Linked DNA regions of Homo sapiens: region 2 is linked to region 1. The links are contacts of gene promoters, found by promoter capture Hi-C in human tissues and cell types (Jung and others, 2019). All regions are on one chromosome and are shown on one strand. Each heading gives the region's core, a stretch centred on a gene start or on the middle of the fragment in contact. The rest is flanking DNA. Distances are from core to core; before and after follow the strand shown.

Region 1 (4,957 bases), core at 702-3,201:
TCAGAAAAACTTGGGTTCATCTCCATCTCCTACCTCCCATATGTCACAAATAGACGCATGGGATGTGAAATGGTAACCTCTGGGTAAGGTGACAAAGGTACTCTAATCTTGGCTTACGTGGACTACACGGTTAATCCACTGAATAACAATCAGCATCTTCATCTGTGTGGTAGGAGAACCGGAGGTCAGAAGGGTAGAGGGGCGGCTAAAAGTACTTTGTTTCTATTACTGTATGACCTTGGACTAGTTACAAAACTTTTTGTGCCTACATTTCCTAATCCCTAATATGGGGTTAACAGTGCTTGCCTCTGTTTAAAAAAATTACTCAGTGATGCTTACTAAAGCATGGTAAGAAAGACTTTATTCAGGACCAACGCGATGGGTACAGGGATCAGGGAAACCCGGGGAGAGAGAGTGGGCTCCAATTCTGAATGCAGCGTCGGCAAGTAGAAATTTATGGCCATGTAAAATCACTAAGAGTAACCATCGGGGGAAGAGGGATTCTGGCTCAACCGATCTAAAGGATTCTTGTAGAACTCAGGCCAGGGTGAAAAGACATGACTGGGGGATAGAGGAAGATGAGGAACCTGATCTGCTATGAGGGGATGGGGGTTCTGTGCTAGAACTGGATTTTACAAGGAAGTGCACAGATGGGCCTAGCATGAGATTCAGAAGCCTGACTAAAGTTTGGCCAAGCAAAGAATCTTTGTCACCTCAGGGCTGTTGTGAGAATTTTAGGAGACACATCCACCAGCCTTGGCATGGGGCCTGATGCAGAGTAAGTGTTCACTAAACTTTACCTATTAACGTTAAAGCACTTTAAGTTGACAAACACTCCACGTACAGAGCTTTTAATGGGGCAAACAAGGGGCAGAGGCCTCAGCTGCAGGGTACTCAACCTCTAAGGAAGGGCGCTGGAGAAAACTGCACTTGCAGAGCCCCTGGCTGGAGGGCGGAGAACCATGTGGGTGTAAAGGGATGGCAAGGGCAGAACGTATGCCCCTGCCCACCTTAGACAGTTGCTAAAGGGTCTCCCAGGCACTCAGCCTAGCCTTTAAGTGAAAGCGGAGGAAACATTTAAAGAAATGAGATAGAGTTAAGGTGTTCGCCTGCCCTCCGCTGAAACACGTGGGGGCAGGTCAGGGGCACACCACAAATGCCCGTATCGCGCCTGTGTGTACCAGGCACCGTCCTCGGAGGTTAACGTGCAGTAACTCACTCGGGTCCCCACTTTCGGCACAGGCAGCAGGCCCAAGGTCACGCAGTGCCAAGGGACTGAGTCAGACCCGAGCCCGCGCGCCGCGGCCCACGGCCTGTGCCAGCGCGCTCCTCGCCGGGTAGGGGGCCTGGTCAGCCGCGTCAGACCTGAGAGTTGTGGCTGGGGGCGAGAGCTGCACCCCCCTACCGACCCCGGGCGGGAATGTTCCAGAACCCCTGCGAGCAGCCGTTGGCCGCACAGCCCCCGGGCCGGCCGCGACCCCGCCTTGCGCCGCGAAGGTCCCTAGCTCCGGGGAGTCGCGGGCGAGGGGCACGCGCACGGACGAGACCGCACCGCAGCGCACGCGCACTGGCGGGCACTCACTCGCCCGCCGCCCGGGAGGAGAAGGAAGGCATGGAAAGTTCCAGCCGGTTCGAGAGCTAGGTAGCAGGCATGGCAGGAGGCGGGGTAGGGGCAGGCAGGGTCGCGAGGGGGCGTGCGGCCGCCGCGAGCCGCTCTGGGCCGCGTCTGCAGCACCGCCCCTAGCCGCGGCCGGCGGGCTGGGCTGGGGTCGGGGCGGGGGCGGTGCGGCGGGTGCGGGGCTGCGGAGGGGGCGTGGCGGCCGCCCGCGGGCGGAGAGGGGGCGGGGCGGCGGCAAGGCGCGCGGGCGGGGCGGGGCGCGCCGAGGGGGCGTGGCGCGGCGTCTGCGCAGCTGCCAGCGCCTTTAAGCCCGGGCTCGCGCTCTCGGACCGTGCTTTCGCCGCCTGGGAGCCGTCCGGCGCAGCAGTTTCTAGGTCCCCACTGTCCCCGCCGTCCCGCCCCTTCGCGTCCCGGGAACCGGCTGGCTTCCGAGCCGCACTCGCCGATCCTCCAGGCATGCCCCGCTACGAGCTGGCTTTAATCCTGAAAGCCATGCAGCGGGTAAGTGACCTTCCCTCAGAGCCGGTCTTCCCGCGCGGGCGCCCCCGCTGCCGCTAGGCCGCCGTCCCCCGCGCGCCCTGGCCGCGGGACCCCGGGCCTTCCTGCACTCCTCGGAGGAGGCCGGGGCGGCGGGCGGGCGGCGGGCGTCCGCGGGAAGGGGGCGCGCGTGGGCCGGCCGGGCCCGGCCGCGTGCGCGCGGGAGGCGGGGGTGTGCCTGCGCGTGTGCGCGGTCCGGGAGGGTGTGCCTCGCAAGCGGCCCGCCGGGCGGGGGGCGGGGCGGACCGAGCGGGCCCCGACCCCGATCCCGGCGCCGGCCCGCGGGAGTCCAGTGGAAGGTCCGCGGGAGGACACGCGCGGGCGCCCAGCCCGACTCCGGCCCGTCCCCGCCAGTCGTGAAGCTGCCTCGTCGCCGGCCCCGCCGCCGCCGCCTGGTCCGTCCCGCTCCGCCGCCCGCCGGCTGCCGCCGACCGCCTCCGCTCTAGCGCCCGCCGGCCGCCCGGAACGTCCGCGCCCAATAAAGCGTTCCTCCAAAGCTTGTTTGTGCCGTTGTCTGTATTCCAGTCTCTTGCAATCGCTCTCATGTTAAAAAAAAATCTTTTGACTTTTCTTTTTCTGACTTCAGCGAAAATCCCGCTCCGGGTGCCCTTAGCCCAGTTTCATTCATCCAAGTTGTGGCCTTTCTTGCGCCTCCAGAAGACACTTTCTTCCCCCTGCTTTTGATTGATCTTGAGGTAGGGGATTTCAGGTTTGGAGGGATGCTAAGCGAACCAGCGGCCCCTTTCAGGTGACGGCGTGGCCAAGGACAGGGGCCCGCGGCCCGGAGGCAGCTCACTTCGTCCTCTGTCCTGGGTCATGTACTCCTCAAGTCGTCGCCGAAATCCCCATTCTCCCGTGAATTCGGAATTCGGTAACGTAGTTTGGTGTTATGTTTTTTTTTCTCCACCAGGTGTAATAAAACAAAAATCATTGTACCACGTCCGAACTTTGTAAGCACAGCTTCCTACAGCGCTAGAGGAGTGGACGCATTTTTACGTTTGAAATTAGGCTCCAGGTCAATTGCGAGGAGTATTACCAAGTTTGGTTGAACTTAAGCTCAATTGATAAACTAACAATCACGGAGCGTCGGGAGATTGTTAGGAAGTGTGCTTTGCATATTGTTAACTGGGAAGGGACGCCAGTGCCTCTCTATGAGGTCCAGACAGCCTGGCCAGGCATGCCATTGTGTCCCCCAGCTTGTTCTTCATGGATTTGGAAGAAGTTAAGATAGTATCTGTTCAGCCTCTTGAATATCCCTTTTGGCCCTCCTCCTTGCTTACCAGCATATGTAACTCCGAAAGGATAGGAGCAGTGAAAACAAAGCATTATTAAAAGGGAAGATTTTTAATTAGGTGGAAGTTGTTTAAGCCCTCCCTTCAACTTACGTGTTTTAGGGAATGTGGAACCTGGGAAATTCGTTACTGAAATTCCTTTTGTTTACTTTCCTTGTCTTGGGGAGGTAGCAGGTGACACTGAAAGAGGCAACCTGTAGGCAATAATATTTGCTCATTCTGTAACCCTTTGAAACCTTTGAAATGAAGACTTGCCCTCCCCTTTGTTTTTGCCATAGTTGCCAAGTATCTTGGTTAACATGGCTGCAAGTATTAAGTGTATTTCTTTTACCATTTTTTTTTATGTCCTGTAATAACATAGCCTTTGGATGTGGAGCACCCATTTTTCACTCTAGTTCAGATCAACAGAGCGTAATTTGGTTAAAATAATAAATAACCTTCCTTGAAATCTTCGCATGAGGGAAGGGGGGCAAAAAAAAGAAAAAAAGCCCTAGAAAGTAGATAATAAAGGTGAACTGCCTCTTGGAGAAAGAGGCCCCATGGCAGTAGATAGAAGGTTGTAACAGTGGTGACTTATGTACAATGGCGAAGTTATGTTGAGGAGATCCTTGACCTAAATAAAGTAATATTAAACAATAGCTTCTCAGTTATTTGTTCAAAAACCTATCTGTAGCTTGTAAATGTGGCACAAACACAAAGACTTCCAGGTTTTAGACCAGTTTGCTTGCTTTCAGTTTAGGAAAATAGGATTCTAAAATAGGATGAATGTTTGGGGGGAAACGAATTTAAAAAGTTAACTCTAGGCTTATGAAATGAAAAATGCGACTGTGAGCTTGCACACCGGTAGCAGGCCTTGGAGAAACCACAGTTCTAACCCGAGGCACTTTGTGCTTCTGTTGCAAGAAGGGTATTGAAGCTCCTCAGTTCAAAGTTGCGTATCTTCCACGTTTTTAGATTCTTAAGTGTATACCTCTTTACCCCTTTAATATGATGTATTTTCCTTTCCTCCCCAAATCATTTGTGCATCTTGGAATTGAGGAAAATGCTGTGTTAGGCAACTTTAACAGCGGATATGGAAGTTAAGAAACTATAGTTTTCCAGCCTTTGGACTCCCAGAGCTGCTCTCCTGTTTTTTCTCCGCAGTACTCAGCCTGGAGAGCATTCTTAGTCTGTTTGGAGAATATTAACTCCTCCCTGTCCTCATTACTTTTTTTTTGACCCTAGCTTGACTCCTTTAAATTGAGCTTGCAAAGTTTTAAAATTTAAAATACAGGCCCTGTGTTGGCTGTCACAGTATCTGGATTGTAGCAAAGTCAGTTGCGGGAATGCCCATTGAAAGATTTCAGAGTGTATTATGTAGAGTCAGTCATATTGAACTATACAGTTGTACAATTAGTCACCCAGAAATTCCAATACTATGTTTTTCTCAGTTTGCAAGTAGAAGTTGATTATGAGTATCTACTTTTGTACTTCCAAGTTTGGGCATTTAGGAATGTAGTTAACTAGTGTT
Region 2 (4,957 bases), core at 1,637-4,136, 1.3 Mb after region 1:
GTGAGGAGAGGGGAAGCCTAGAGAAGCAGGTGCAGAGCTTCTACCCGGATCCTGGGCTGGATTCAGCTTCCAATATGCCTTGTTTGTCCCTGTAGCATTAGGACATATTGAAAGCTTCCTCACTTAAGAATATGGATATTTTACATAGAGAAATTGATTTTACACTCCTTTTGCAAACCCTGAAGGTCTGGCCATGCCAGTTTCTCATTCTCACAAGTCAGCAAGAGCAGGTATGGAGGAGAGAATCAGATGACCTCTCCAGCTTTCTACTTTGTACATGACCTTGTGAGTATTTCTGCCTAAGAGTCACTTAAGAATACAGATATTTTACTTAGAGAAATTGATTGTACACTCTTTTGCAAACCCTGAAGGTCTGGCCATGCCAGGCTCTTATTCTCACAAGTTACCAAGACCAGGTATGGAGGAGAGAATCAGGTGACCTCTCCAGCTGGCCTCGGTGCCACCTCACTGCCACCTCCCTGTGGTCACACACAGCCTGCTCCACTCATTCACAGGCCTGGGCTGGTTTGCATTTACCTTGGCCCCATGGACTAGAGAGAAGATGACCAGCTGTCAACATAGCTGTTGAGGGACAATCTCTGGGCACTGGCAGAACTACGAGTGACCTCTGTGTCCAAACAGAGAATGCCTCTGGGGAGGAGACCATTTGTCCCCTACATAATGAGCTCCAGTGTAAAATCCAGCATGGCTCAGGTATGCTGAGCGTTGGAAACTTTGGAAGCTTCTGGAAACAGTAGGCTAGAAATGAGCACTGACAACTCAAAATGCGTACCTGCAAGGGAAGCTGAGTGAGTTTCTCCAAGTGTTGTCAGGGGGATGCCTGCGGCCACATGGTAGCCAGACAGAGAAAAGAACAGGGAAGACAGCACACACGGGGACCACAGAAAATACTGTATGTGTTCTGGGGGTCCGAGTGGGAGTTTAAAACTGTCATTCAGGTGGGAGGCTTAAGTTCTTGAAATTTAAATATTAGAATAAAGGCAATGCCTGGACATACCAGATGCATATTAAAAGTTTTCTAAACTATACATATTTTTAACCTAGAAATTCTACTTTTAGTATTTTTATCCTAAAAAAGTTCATGGATGTGTATAGAGATTGTATTGAAATATATTATTTTAATACAATTATATAAATAATATATCATAAAATTATGCATGATATATAATATAAATTATAAAATGATTATTATTGAATAACAATTATATAAGTATAATGTTAATTGTAACTTATAATGACAAAGAACTGGCAACTCTTAGGATCTGCAACTGAAGAACATTGTTTCAATAAATTGTAACATCCATACAACAAATTTCAAGTAGCCACTAAAATACTACCAGGAAGTTATTTAAGGTTATTTCAAAGCATGTTACAAAAATAATATGCATGGTATAATGCCATTTTTATTTAATATATAAACACACATAGGGAAATATTTAAGTTTATACATTATATTAGTTTCCTGGGGCTCCTGGAACCATTTTCTGCAAATATTGTGGCTTAAAACAACAGAGTTAATTTTCTGACAGTTATGAGGACAGGAGTTTAGCAGTTTCACTGGGCCAAAATCAAAGTATGGGCAGGGCTGCACTCTCTCTGAAGGCTCTAGGAGATAACCCTTCCTTGCCTCTTCCAGCTTCTGTGGTTCTGGCGTCCTTGGCTTGTAGCTGCATCACTCCAATCTCTGCCTCTGTCTCTTCGTGTGTCTGATCTCCCTTAGTCTCTCTCTTATAAGGACCCTTGTGCTTGGATTTAATACCCACCAGGAAAATCCCTCATGTCAAAATCATTAACTTCATCACATCTGTAAGTCGCTTTTACATTGTAAGGTCACATTTATAGGTTTCAAGGACTCAGACCTGTTATTTTTGGAGCATCATTATTTCATCTGCTGTTTTCCTAATCATTAAAAGATATGTTTTTCTTATGTCTTTCTGTTCTTTCTTAGAGTAAGTATTGGGTAACTTTAGTAAGGGGGATTTATTTTAAGTAGATTATACCAGACAAAGTATGAATTTCTACTTTGTACACGACCTCGTATTTCTGCCTAAGAGCCAAAAAAGAAATAAACAAAAGTACCAACATGAAAACTGTATTTTCCCTTTAGAGTATTAAAAACCTTGTTCAATATTCAAGACTTTAAACTATGTTTAAAAAATAGAGGCATACGATATGATTGATTTTTATCAAATACTAGGTTGGATATTATAGAACAAATATATAATTTAGAAAAATCCAAGAAAAAAACAGAGATGAAGATGCCCTAACAGATGACTCTACCTGCCAAAAAAAGGAGGAGAGATGTGTATAATGTGCAAGAAAAAAAGTATCTATTTGATAGGTAAGTGTGCTTTCAAATTCTGAAAGGTCTTTAATATTAGGAAAAAGATTTTTACCAAAAATGGAATTTTCCACTAAAAAACAGGAACTAAAATAAGTATCCATTTCAATTCTGAAAAGTGAATGATGAAGAAGGCAAGTCAGAAATTCATTTTAGATGACGAATATGTTACATTTCCAAAAAGAAGGTAAGACACTAGAACAGAGGAAGGTAAAAGAGGAAGTCCCCACTTGTTTCCTTATTACGTGTTAGTTTCTGAGTTAGATGTAAGGGGAGATATATGTTTTGGACAGGTTTCTTGTCCTCAAAAATGTGTAGTTCAGTAAGAAAGATATGATTAAGCCGTGTTGAGGTGAAGCGCTATGCAAATGCAATCAGTGACAAGAGAGGCACAAACCAGTTCCTCCAGAACTGGGGGTGGCCAAGCTTCCCCTTGAAATGCAGGGTTTGCAGGATAGATGAAGCTGAGTGAAGAAGACAGGTGAGTAGTCCATTTCTGAAAAAACTGGAAGGAATTGAGATGGAAAAGTAATAATGTAATACCTAACATTTATCCAGTCATATGCCAGATATGGGGCTAAGATTTTTTTTTTTTAATCCATTATCAGGGAGAAAAAACGTTTCCTCTATTCTCTTAAGTTTGGTAACTGAGAGCCTGTGAATTAAACTAACAAAAGATAGATTAACAGGGGGAAGGGTACACAATTTTTCTTGATATTTACATGCACAAGAGTTCCCAGAAAAAGAGTGAAACTCAAAGAAGCAGACTCAGGGGCTTATACAGCCGTTCAACAAAGGGAAAAGAGTTTGGGTCTCAAGGTATGATAAATAGTGGGGAAGTGACTAGGAAATCCAGTGACTCAGGGAAGATAAGGGTTATTTTAGTAAGGTCGCTTGTGCAAACACATGTTGGCATCAACTCCCTTTCTTCAATGAAAAGAGTCACTCTTCCCTCCTTGTGTAGGAGGTGAGGTCCTCCTCAAAGAGAAACTAAAACTGTATGCCTTGTCTTTAGGCTGTTAATGGTGGGTTGAGGAACTCTTCCTGCACCTGCTGATTCTCAACTGCCTTTAGCCCCAAATAATCTTTATGCCAAAGTGGCATAGTTTAGAGTGGCATCTTCTGATCCCCATCACAATAAACAGGTGTAATACTGATACGACTATGAGACAGGCATAATTGTTGCGTCTTTTCTTAGGTGGGGAAACTGAGGATCTTATGTCCTAGCCAGCATGCCTGACAAAGAGGTAGGTGCTCATGTTGTCAGAAAAGGAGGGCAAGTGGTGTTGGTGTCGCTCAGGCAATTTCAATATGACAAACTGGAAAACTTCTAAATGCACCGTCCTCACTTGTTTCAAGTTTCAGAGGAACCAGGTGGATCCCCCATTCTTTAACTGGTTCCTTTTTCCTTTCAAGTTCAAAAACACTCAAGGAATACTTTAATAAATCAATAAAGTGAACACAGCAAGTGAGGAATGGCAAGAAACAAGAGAAAATGTTCAAGAGGACCGTAACGATGAGAGGAAATTAAAGTAAGTTTACTCAGATGCTTTCATGTAACCGCACTTATTAAAAAAGAAGAAAAAAAGTCTTATAAAGTTGTATAAAAATAGAGTAGCAGAATAATAATAGCCCTAACTATAATTTCTGATACTATGTAGACTGGGGAAAAACATAACCCAATAGCCTAAGGAGAAAAGAAAGAAAATATGTTTGCTCAAAGAAAACAAACACAGACATATAAACCTACACCCCTGATGGCTGAACTTCATAGAACTAAGAAGTCAATAGGAAGAAAGTGCAGACAAGCAGGAAGCTCATTAGATTAGAAATCAAGTTCATGTTCTAGCACTGATGGCCAGCTGACCAGGGCAATTCACAAGCAGTTCAAGTTCAGGGACCAAAGCGCCCCTGAGTGCCTCCATTGGATTCTGCACAGCCAAAAAGACGCTTGAAAACATCAAGCCCTGTCACCAGTACCTTCTATAAGCCTTGAGAGAGGTGTGATGATATAACAGGGAATCAGAGAAGCCTAAACCTGTACCTGCTTTGGGAAACCCATGTAATGCCTTCGCCTGATTCATTATTATTTGAGAACCTACAAGGCCCCTGTGTTCACAACTCTAGGAAGATGCAAGACTCTAGGTATCATGGCTCTTGCCTTTAGAAGCATTTTGCTAGTTTTCTATTGCTCTGTAGCACGCTTCCACACACTCAGCAGCTTTAAACAATCCCTTTATCTGTTCACAGCTCTGTAGATTAGAAGTCTGTGACTGGGTTCTCCATAGTGTCTCAGGAGGCTGACATTAAGGTGTTAGCCAACTGGGTTTTCCTCTGGAGACTGGGGGAAAATCTGTTTTCACACTTATTCAGGGTGTTGTCAGAATTCATTTCTTTGAGGCTGTAGGACGGACATTCCCACTGCCTTTCTTGTTGTCCGCTGTGGGCCACCCTCAGCCTGTAGAGGCCACCCACATTCCTTACTACACAGCCCCCTCCATTTCTAAAACAAGCAATCAAGAAGTCTCCCTCATGTTGAATGTCTGTCACGCTGTGAATCTCTCTCATGAGGAAGATCCCAGCAGCTGATCTGAG

The links. Contacts are between HindIII fragments. The study calls those that stand out against the background at their distance.
Region 2: a contact is called between a fragment that was not itself captured here and the fragment with the promoter of MRPS6 in region 1, in 1 of the 25 tissues and cell types used here (lymphoblastoid cells).

What each region holds. Positions count from the first base shown.
Region 1 is chr21:34,071,627-34,076,583 of GRCh38, forward strand. MRPS6 (mitochondrial ribosomal protein S6) reads left to right here and starts at 1,952. Exons shown (of 3, transcript NM_032476.4): 1 at 1,952-2,119. The coding sequence starts at 2,075. SLC5A3 (solute carrier family 5 member 3) reads left to right here and starts at 1,952. Exons shown (of 2, transcript NM_006933.7): 1 at 1,952-2,119. RefSeq lists silencers at 1,400-1,919, 2,210-2,609 and an enhancer at 1,863-2,813. The HindIII fragment of the contact is 15,607 bases long and covers 1-4,957 here.
Region 2 is chr21:35,339,959-35,344,915 of GRCh38, forward strand. No RefSeq gene overlaps it. Among named protein-coding and RNA genes, the nearest start is that of RUNX1, 290 kb to the left of the region's middle. The HindIII fragment of the contact is 7,034 bases long and covers 1-4,957 here.